Linked DNA regions of Homo sapiens: region 1 is linked to region 2. Evidence: promoter capture Hi-C in 16 types of primary human blood cells and fetal thymus (Javierre and others, 2016). All regions are on one chromosome and are shown on one strand. Each heading gives the region's core, a stretch centred on a gene start or on the middle of the fragment in contact. The rest is flanking DNA. Distances are from core to core; before and after follow the strand shown.

Region 1 (4,812 bases), core at 1,463-3,962, 300 kb after region 2:
CAACACTATGCAAGAGGAATACGGGGCCTCAGAGATGTGTGGCTTCGGGCTTAGTTACTCCTTCACCCAGAAGGTGCTCAGCCAGGGCTAGGGGGTGTGAGGCATGGGAGGGCCAGGGAAGAGAGAAATAGGAGTGGGGGAGGAGTCTGAGAAACTCAAGATCTTGAGGTACCTATGATGGACAGTGCTGATGGGAAGGATGCCCTGGCTACCCACCCCTAATCTGTCTTTGAGGGTGGCAAGCCCTGTATTAGAAGCACGGGGCTCGGGACTAAGGTAGGGATCTTTCAGAAGACCTCGGGACAGGCTATGTTGCCTGGATGACAGGACTGGCCACCTATAGGGAGCTGAGGCTGGGAGGGGTTAAAGGCAGTAATATAATCTCCCAGGATTTCCATAAGCAATGCCCAGTCCCTCCTAGGCAGCCTCCCTCTCAGCTGTCTGCTGAGAAGGTGCTGAGGATTCACACAGAGGCACAGCACAACCACCACGAGGACCTCCAATTATGCCTGACTTATAACCCAAGTGCTATGCTACCTATTTCTCTAAAGGGAAAAGCTTGGTTCTGAGCCCTCAACCATTTCAACAGCCACTGGAAAACATGGGAGGCCTGGTGGGCCATGTTTGGACTGATGTGGTCTGAAACAACATAGAAGAGGGCCAGGAGATGCCACAGGGATCTGGGGACACCTGGGGAAAGGAGGGAATGAGGGATTTTGCCTCAACTAAAGTGAGAATTAGTCGAGTCTGCAGGCTTTGCTCTGGGGTTTCCATCTGGTTGGAGTACCAGTCCTGGTGGCCCAGTTCTCTTTGATCTCTGCCAAGGACAAAGGTCTTCTAGCGCAGGGGTCCTCAGCTCCCAGGCCATGGAACAGTAGCAGAACCAGGCCGCACAGCAGGAGGTGAGCATGGGCGAGCAAGCATTAACCCCTGTGCTCCAGCTCCGGTGGGATCAGTGGCAGCAATAGATTCTCATAAGGGTGAGAACCCTATTGTGAACTGTCCATATGCAGGATCTAGGTTGCGTATTCCTTAAGAGAATCTGAGGTGGAACAGTCTCATCCCAAAACCATTCCCCACTCCCTACTGGTCCGTGGAAAAACTATCTTGCACAAAACTTGTCCCTTATGACAAAAAAGTTGGGGACTGCTGCTCTAGCATCCAAAATGATTAGATCCCCCTGAGTTACAGATGAAAGTTCCTAGGGGAAAGACATGGAGGACTAGTAGTAAGAAGGGAGAGACATCATGTGTTTTACTTACTGGCAATGCAGTGGATACCGTTTTGGGGATCTGATTGGACACTTTCCATGGGAATCTTTATAACCGAGGGAGGAGGGAACTGGGGCTGGAGAAAAACAGTGGGAAAAGAGGATAAACACCAACACAACAATTTGGCTTTCTTTTTTTTTTTTTTTGAGACAGAGTCTCGCTCTACTGCCCAGGCTGGAGTGCAGTGGTGCGATCTCGGCTCACTGTAACCTCTGCCTCCTGGGTTCAAGTGATTCTCCTGCCTCAGCCTCCCAAGTAGCTGGGATTACAGGCGTGCACCCCCATACCTGGCTAATTTTTTGTATTTTTAGTAGAGATGGGGTTTCACCATGCTGGCCAGGCTGGTCTTGAACTCCTGACCTTGTGATCCCCCCTGCCTCGGCCTCCCAAAGTGCTGGGATTACAGATGTGAGCCACCGCGCGTGGCCAACAACTTGGCTTTCTTGCCAAGATGGAAAATGCATGCATGAACATTGCAAACCACCATTCTGTTCACCTCTAAACAGTTAGGGGATGCTGCAAATACCCTGGGGTCCACTGAAGGGGAATGGGCACAGTTAGCCTGCTGTCCTATACACACCATCAGACAGACCGGAACTCTTCCAGGAATGTTACTCATCAAAACAGTTTTATCTGTCACAGCAACCAGTCACTTGGGAATGAACCTCACACAACAACTGTGTTGCTATAAGACAAGTAAAATGAATTTGTATAAATTGAATCCTGTTTTTCCATTGATATATCATAATTCAGAGATTCTTTTTCCCAACCCTGTAATAGTTCTTGGCATGTGGTAGCCACTCAGATATTTATTGAAAGTATCAACAAAAGAAGTATTTGTCTTTAAAAGGCACTTAGTCTCTGTTTCTTTGTTTTCAGAACCCACCTTTACAAATCATCTACAAACACATGCATTATGGGACTCTTCCTGGAAGAGCACAGTAATTAAGGACCAGGGGAGTTCTGACTGATCAGAAGATGGTTTAATCACCACCAGCCAGTCAGAAGGGATTTGCCTTGAACAGGTTTCATCTGCACAAGGCAAAATCACGAGAACAGGACAGGGTGGATGCAGGGACGTGAGTTTGGGTCAAATTGGGAGATTGGGAACCAAGCACAGCATTAGGAGATGGCACAGGCAGCTTAGCATATCAGAAACCAGCAAAGTCAGGAATTATTTTCTTAATTCCTTCTTAGAAATGTAGCTACATGTCCATTTTGGGTAAGTCACTTCCTTTTGTGGGGACAGTTTCATCATAAGTAATGAACACATGAATTAAGAATCTTTCTGCCTCATGTTTTGTGATTCACTATAATTTCTGGACTGGCCCCTTGTCTGTTGACTCCCTGAGTGTTTTGGGGATGAAATGGGAAGGGACCATGGGAGAAGAGGGGCAGATGGGGCAACCATGTTGTCCCAGACATCTGGGAAATGTAGCCAGTCTCCTTTTGGCGAGGATACCTGCCTCTTTCCCCATCTTTGTCCTCAATACCCTAGGCAAAGGCGCAAGCAAAACTTGTTCCCAGCCCCTCCTGCCTGTCTGGAGTCCAGTCTACTTATAAGGCCCCATTAGACACCTCTCCCCAAGTCTGCTCCACTCTTTGGAGGTCAGTCTTCATAACCTCCTTCCATGCTGGAGCTGCCTCCTGGCCCTTCCCACAGGAACCCGCTTGCTGTGATCACGGCCGTAAAGCCCACAGTGATGGAAAGAGTGGGCATGGCCAGTCACCTTTTCCCTGGACAGGGAGTCTCATTCACTCTGGCCCACCCTGAGGATATTCACATAAACAGAAGAGCCCTCAACACCCCAGACCAAGACAAGCAGATGCCCCAGCCCATCCTGGACTGGGCCGAGGCACTGCTGCAGGCCACCCAAGAAGCCGCCCTCTCCCTGTCCCTGGCAAAAGTGGAGAGAAGGTCTCTCAATTTCTCCTCTGTGCCCCGGCCTCACATCTTCCCCACCTCCTCATCACAGTCCTCGTGGGCCCCTTTTTTTCTCTTCCTCTTCTTGTCTGTCTCCTTTTTTTCCTTCTCTGGGAGGATGTTGTCAATCCAGGCCAGGTCGTGCTGGGAAAAGATGAAATCCAGAAGCCTTCGAACGATGATGAGGCCCAGGATCTGTGGTGGAGAGAGACTAAAGTTTTGTGAGAATTTGGAGAAAACTGTGGTCTCAATGCCCAAACTCAGGCATAGATTTTTTTCTCCCTCAGTCGGCTGAGTTCAGGGACTTTTTGTGGTGTCTTTGGAGCCGTCTCGAAGCTCCCATAAGCCATTATTCACTTTCCCTCCACCGTAGTTCCTCTTGTCTGGCCCCTCAGGTGAGTGACCATGCCTACCAGTGACCAAGAGGGACGGAGCCTGTGACAGCCGAAGTGGGGAGCCTCAGAAAGGCCATGGGCTGGAGAACTACAGTTATTCTTTAAATTAGTGGTTCTCAGCCAGGCGTGGTGGCTCACACCTGTAATCCCAGCACTTTGGGAGGCCGAGGTGGGCAGATCGCCTGAGGTCAGGAGTTTAAGACCAGCCTGGCCAACATGGTGAAACCCTGTCCCTACTAAAAGTACAAAAGTTAGCCAGGCATGGTGGTGGGTGCCTGTAGTCCCAGCTGCTCAGGAGACTGAGGCAGAAGAATCGCTAGAAACCGGGAGGCGGAGGTTGCAGTGAGCCAAGATTGTGCCACTGCATTCCATCCTGGGCGACAGAGCAAGACTCCATCTCAAACAAATAAAATAAATACATAAATTAGTGGCTCTCAAACTTGAGCATGCACCAGGACCTGGAGGGCTTGTTAATTAATACACAAATCACTGGATTCCCCCAGTTTCTGATTTAGCAGGTCAGGTAATGCCTGAGAATTTATGTCTCTAACCACTCTGTACATTTGCCAAAACTCATAGACCCACACATTGAATTTTACTGTATGCAAATTAAACAAAAAAATCAATAGGTGGAGGGTGTGGGTCTTGCCCTGCCCTATCTGGCTGTGTGTCCAGGGTCACTCTGCTCATGCTCTCTGAGCCTCATTTTCTCATCTGTAAAGCGGGGTTATTAGTGCTTTGGGGGCTGGTGTGGACTCAGTGGAACAGTACTCAGTAAATGCTAATCATGACTACTACTGCCTTTCCCTTCGCCAGCTCTGAGGCCCCTGAGGGCACTGGGGGGAGGATCTATCTCCCTTTCCCTGCAGTGGGGGTTCTCAACCCTGGCTGCAGGTCTATGCTCACCTGTGGACCTCATAAAAATACCAAAGTCTGGGTTTCCCTAGAGATTCTGATTTGTTGATCTGGGTTGATTTTCATGGGCAGCCCGGGTCAAGAACCATGGACTAGACCCCTCCCAGCAGTGTGCACTTCAAGTTCTCCTCAGTGTCCTTACTTTGTCCCCTACCCCAGAGCCCTCAGGCTTTCCCCAGGCATTTGCTGACACACTCCAGGCTCCTGGCAAGGGCCTGGGTCACTGCCCTCGGTGAGTTATCTAGGGGGCCAGATGCAACATGTTGTTGGCTTTGCATTCTTTTCACTTCTTATTTTGGAGTAATTT
Region 2 (5,221 bases), core at 1,492-3,991:
CATGTACAAGAATATTTACCGCAACACTATTCATTATGGCTCAAATCTAGAAACTTCCGAGTACATTGTGGTATAGTGACATTGTGGAATACTATACAGCAATGAGAATGAGTGAACTACAACTAATACATTCAACCTGGATGAATCTCACAGATATGTTAAATAAAAGAAGTATTTACTATATAATTCCATTTATATAAAGAAAACGCAAAACTAATCTCTACTGTTGAAGTCAGGCTAATGGTTATCTTTGAGGGATAGTAACTGGCAACGAATATGGGGGATTCTGGAGATGCGGATAATGCTGTTTCTTGATCTGAATCCAGGTAACAGTCATTCCATTTGTGAAAACTTCATTGAACTGTACACTTACAACACATCCTCTTTTCCTCACTGCACAACACATCCTCTTTTCCTCACTACATACTATGCTTTACCATAATTTTTTTTTTTTTTTTTTTTTGAGACGGAGTCTCGCTCTGTCGCCCAGGCTGGAGCACAGTGGCGCGATCTCGGCTCACTGCAAGCTCCGCCTCCCCGGTTCAGGCCATTCTCCTGCCTCAGCCTCCTGAGTAGCTGGGACTACAGGAGCCCACCACCACACTCCGCTTTTTTTTTTTTCTCTCTCTTTAGTAGAGACAGGGTTTCACCATGTTAGCCAGGATGGTCTTGATCTCCTGACCTCGTGATCCGCCCTCGTCAGCCTCCCAAAGTGCTGGGATTACAGGCGTGAGCCACCGCGCCAGGCCACTTCACCATAAAATTTTTAAAAATAATTTTTAGGAGCTCTGTTACTGGTGGAGGGTGCCCAGGTTCTTGACATTTTGAACAAAGAATTGGACAAAACGTACAAAGCAAGGAAACAATGAAGCAACAAAAGCACAGATTTATTGTACATCAAAGAACACTCCTTGCGGTAGGAAGGGCCCAAGCAAGCAGCAATTACAGAATTTTCTGGGGTTTAAATACCTTCTAGAGGTTTCCCATTGGTTACCTGGTGTACACCCTATGTAAATGAAGTAGTGGCCAGCGATCAGTCTGATTGGTTGCAGGAGGGGACCAATCAGAGGCTGAAGTAAAGTTATGAAGTTATACCCCATGCAACTAAAGACTTGGCCTGCCACCAGCCTGACTGATTGCCCGCGGGGACCAGTCAGAGGTACTTTCAATTTTTTATCTGCCACCCAGAAGAGGGATTAGCTTCTGGTCCTTTTGTTACTTGGGCTAGAAAGTTGGGGTTTTCCTTTTGATTTAGTTCTAGGAAGTCAGCCTAAATCGGCCTTAGGTTCCCTGTCTCCAGACCCTATTTTCCTGCCTCGTAGCTTTTAGGAGATTAATGCCTGCCTGCAGACAACTTCCTCATTTAACTTTCACAACACCCCTGAGGCAGCAAGATCCTGGCGAGGCAGAGAGCCTCTCAAGCTTTTTTGGATGAATATTTTCCAAGTCTGAGTTTACATAGGTAAAGAAATGTAAGCAGTTTTTTTTTTGTTTTTTGTTTTGTTTTGTTTTGTTTTGTTTTGTTTTAACAGAAGTGGCTGCTGGAGTGGAGATGGGAATGGGTAGGACTTTAGCCGCTCCAGTAGCCATTAACGCCCCACCCTGGTTATCCTTAAAAAATTCGATTAAAAAAAAAGTTCTTAATATATAAACATGACCTCAGCCATCCTATATATACATCAACATAAGAAAAAGGTCCCGTGCTTTTTATGGGAACAGCTTCAAGACAGGTATCCCAGCCCCCGGCCCCTCCCCAGCCCCCTTGCAATCAGATCCTTGTCTTCTAAAACCTGCCACACCTAAGAGCGCTGCCTGAAGGCCGGTTTGGCCTGTTGACTCCTGGTTTTGACTGTTGGTGATTTAAGCGATTGGAACTGGAAGCACCATTTGACAACATTTTGTAAATCATTACTTCTGAGGTTGTTATGACGACGGGGTGTGGCAGTCCGGCTTCACCTGTGGCAGCAGCTTAGGTCCCTGCCCTCCTGCAGAGCACACTTCACCGACAGCAGGACTCAGGTTTTATACAAGTCTCTACTCGCCATTGCTTACGTCCAAGAACCCAGCCTACCAGGTTTAAACAATTTCCAGTCACATACCTGAGCCACCACCACCTTATCCTGAAGGGATTTTTGGGTATAATGCAAATCGATTGACCGAACATTTATTTACTTATTCAAGACACAAACTAAGAGATGGGGTGTAACTGATTATCTAATTTGTTAATTTAGTCAATAATATGCCAGCATTGTGCAGGGGAATTACAGGGAATAGGAAAAAGTTAAATTTGTGTAAATCATCAGATTGAGTCATTTTCCTACTTTAAAACTTCCATTTTCTTCCGATATTAAAATAAAAACCAGACAACAAGCACCTGGGGGGGGGGAAATCCCCTCTTAAAATTACAATTTCTATTTTTAATTTTGTCTTCAGTTATAAAATTTATTTTAAAGTTATACAAAAATGAAGTGGTTGGATTGTGGAATTACGTCTTTTAAAATGTTATTTGTCCAATGAACAAAAACCACTCGCACCGCAACTCCTTTTACTATCAAATTCTGCACCGTTGCAAAACTTCCTTCACTCAACGCTTCTTTACAAACATCGCGATAGCGGAGCGGTCTCTTGGGCGCACCCCGCCGCATGTTCAACCCCACCCACTTCCTGTCTGACGATCTCCTTACGTCAACGGTGCGCTGGAGCGAGTGAGCAGCGATACCTAGGGCGGAAGTGCTCTCGGCGGAAGTGATCGCTGTGTGAATCGTGGGTGGGATGGCCGCGGGCCGCCTCTTTCTAAGTCGGCTTCGAGCACCCTTCAGTTCCATGGCCAAGAGCCCACTCGAGGGCGTTTCCTCCTCCAGAGGCCTGCACGCGGGGCGCGGGCCCCGAAGGCTCTCCATCGAAGGCAACATTGGTAAGGGCCGGAAAGCGGCTGCCAAGCCTTGGCCTCCGCCACGCAGGCGACAGAGGCTGGGAAAGGAGCTGGGCCCGGAATGGCCTGCGTCTGATGCGGCCGGCCTCTTTTTCTGGGCTGCGAGGAGAGCCTTTCCCCTCGCAAAGTGCACTGTGTATCTTTGCCTCCTTGTTTTTAGGATATCGGGCCTCAGTACCCGCCCACAGGAACATATTTGTTGGGGCATAAAAGCCACGCAGTTAGTGGATAGGACAAGAATTGTATTAGCTGTTTGTAATAGATCGAAATTGAAGCGACAAGCGGGTGCAGTTTATTTGTTCTCCTAGATAGGGTTGCCATATTTAGCAGAAATTAAAAATAATATCCAGTTAAAATAGAATTTAAGATAACGAATAATTTTTAGTGTGTGTCCAATGCAATATTTGGGACATCCTTACAGCAAAACAACAACGAAATCACTCATTGAAAGTTCAAATTTAACTGTGTCCTGTATTTTATCTGGCAACCCTATTCGAAGAGAGTTCCTAAATTTCAGTCGTTCAAATACCACATTCACAATTTTTGCCCTGTGCCTGTGCTAGTTGCATAATAATTTCTTAAGGCTTTTCTTAGAAGAACCTCACTTTTTAAACTTAAAAACATGTATTAAATTAAAAATTATTTTGTTAAAAGAGTGAGATCCAGTATCTTGAATAAAAAGTAGTCAGAAAGCAAAATGAAGGCAAAGCATTTCGATTTAATATTAATAAATTCTGACTTGATACTTTTATCTACCAAGTCACTGAGCCCCTAAAAGGGGCTTAGCAAGTGTTGAGTACTGAAGACGTAGCAGCAAACTGAGAATTTCTTTTTTTATTCATTCAACAAATCACCTTTTGAGCCACTTCCATATGCCAGCACTGTTCTTGGCCTGGAGAATACAGCTGTGAATAGAACAAATAAAAATCTCTGCTCTCATGGAACTCAAGTAGGGAGAGATGGACAATAAACAACATAAATTAAGCAAGGTGAACAATATGTTAGAGAGTAATAAGTATGATGGAGAAAAATTAGGGATGAAGAATTGAGGGAAGTTTTTATTTTATTTTATTTGAGATGGAGTTTTGCTCTTGTTACCCAGGCTGGAGTGCAATGACACGATCTCGACTCACTGCAACCTCTGCCTCCCTGGTTCAAGCGATTCTCCTGCCTCAGCCTCCCGAATAGCTGGGATTAGGGGCACCCGCCACCACACCCAGTTAATTTTTGTTTTGTTAGTAGAGACAGGGTTTCACCATGTTGGCCAGGCTGGTCTCAAACTCCTAACCTCAGGTGATCCGCCTGCCTCGGCCTCCCAAAGTGCTGGGATTATAGGCGTTAGCCACTGCACCTGGCCGAAGTTGTCATTTTAAATAAAATAAGCAAGGCCTCACTGAGAAGGTGACATCTGAGCAAAAAACTGAAGATGAGGGAGCAAATCACGTGGATACCTGGGAGAAGAATCTTCTAGGCAGAGTGAAGAGCAATTGGAAAGGCCCTGAGGTGGAAAGTGTGTTCGGGGAATAGGAGGGAAATCGTTGTGACTGAAGTCGAGTGAGCAAGGATGGGAGGGAAATTAGGGCAAAAGCCCAAGGGGTGGCCAGATTTTATAGGCCTTATCATGGGTTTTTAATCTTACCGAGATGGGTAGCCATTGGAAGGTTTGAGGAGTCAAGTGACAGTTTTACTTAGATTATAAAAAGATCACTGTGGCTGATAACATTGAAAGTGAAGAGTGTTAAGTGGTATTGCAATAATTATAGTATTGTGAAAAGTGAAAGTGGTGAGACGTGATTGGATTCTAGTTATACGTTAACAAAAATTGAGTTACATTTTAAGTAAAATTTAACAGTGGAAGTGGTGAGAAATGATTGGGTTCTAGTTATATTTTAAGATAGGGCCAATTGGATTTGGTGACAGGTTGAATGCAGAGTGTAAGGTAAAGAGAGGGGCCAATGATGACTCCAATTATTTTGACTTGAGTACTTGAAAGATAGACTCCTGATTTTCTTTTATTTCCTCCTCTCCTTCTTCCTCCCCTCCCCTCGCTTCCCCTCCTTTGGTGTGGTCTTGCCCTGTTGCCAGGCTAGAATACAGTGATGCAATTGCATCTCACTGCAGCCTGCCTCCCAGGCTCAAGCCATCCTCCCACCTTAGCCTCTTGAGTAGCTGGATCCACAGGTGTTTGCCACTATGCGTGGCTAATTTTGTATATTTTTTGTAGAGACAGGGTCTCACTATATTTTCCAGGCTGGTCTTGATCTCCTGGGCTCAATTGATCCTCCTGCC

The links. Contacts are between HindIII fragments. The CHiCAGO score rates a contact against its expected background, and 5 or more counts as called.
Region 1: a contact is called between a fragment that was not itself captured here and the fragment with the promoter of DGUOK in region 2, in 2 of 17 cell types (activated CD4 T cells and non-activated CD4 T cells). The highest score is 5.1, in activated CD4 T cells.

The regions. Positions count from the first base shown.
Region 1 is chr2:74,221,606-74,226,417 of GRCh38, forward strand. It overlaps SLC4A5 (solute carrier family 4 member 5), which reads right to left. Exons shown (of 31, transcript NM_133478.3): 28 at 3,235-3,390; 29 at 1,263-1,347. Among named protein-coding and RNA genes, the nearest start is that of MTHFD2, 25 kb to the left of the region's middle. The HindIII fragment of the contact is 4,313 bases long and covers 557-4,812 here.
Region 2 is chr2:73,924,139-73,929,359 of GRCh38, forward strand. DGUOK (deoxyguanosine kinase) reads left to right here and starts at 2,742. Exons shown (of 7, transcript NM_080916.3): 1 at 2,742-2,914. The coding sequence starts at 2,773. RefSeq lists an enhancer at 2,774-3,043. The HindIII fragment of the contact is 7,290 bases long and covers 1,421-5,221 here.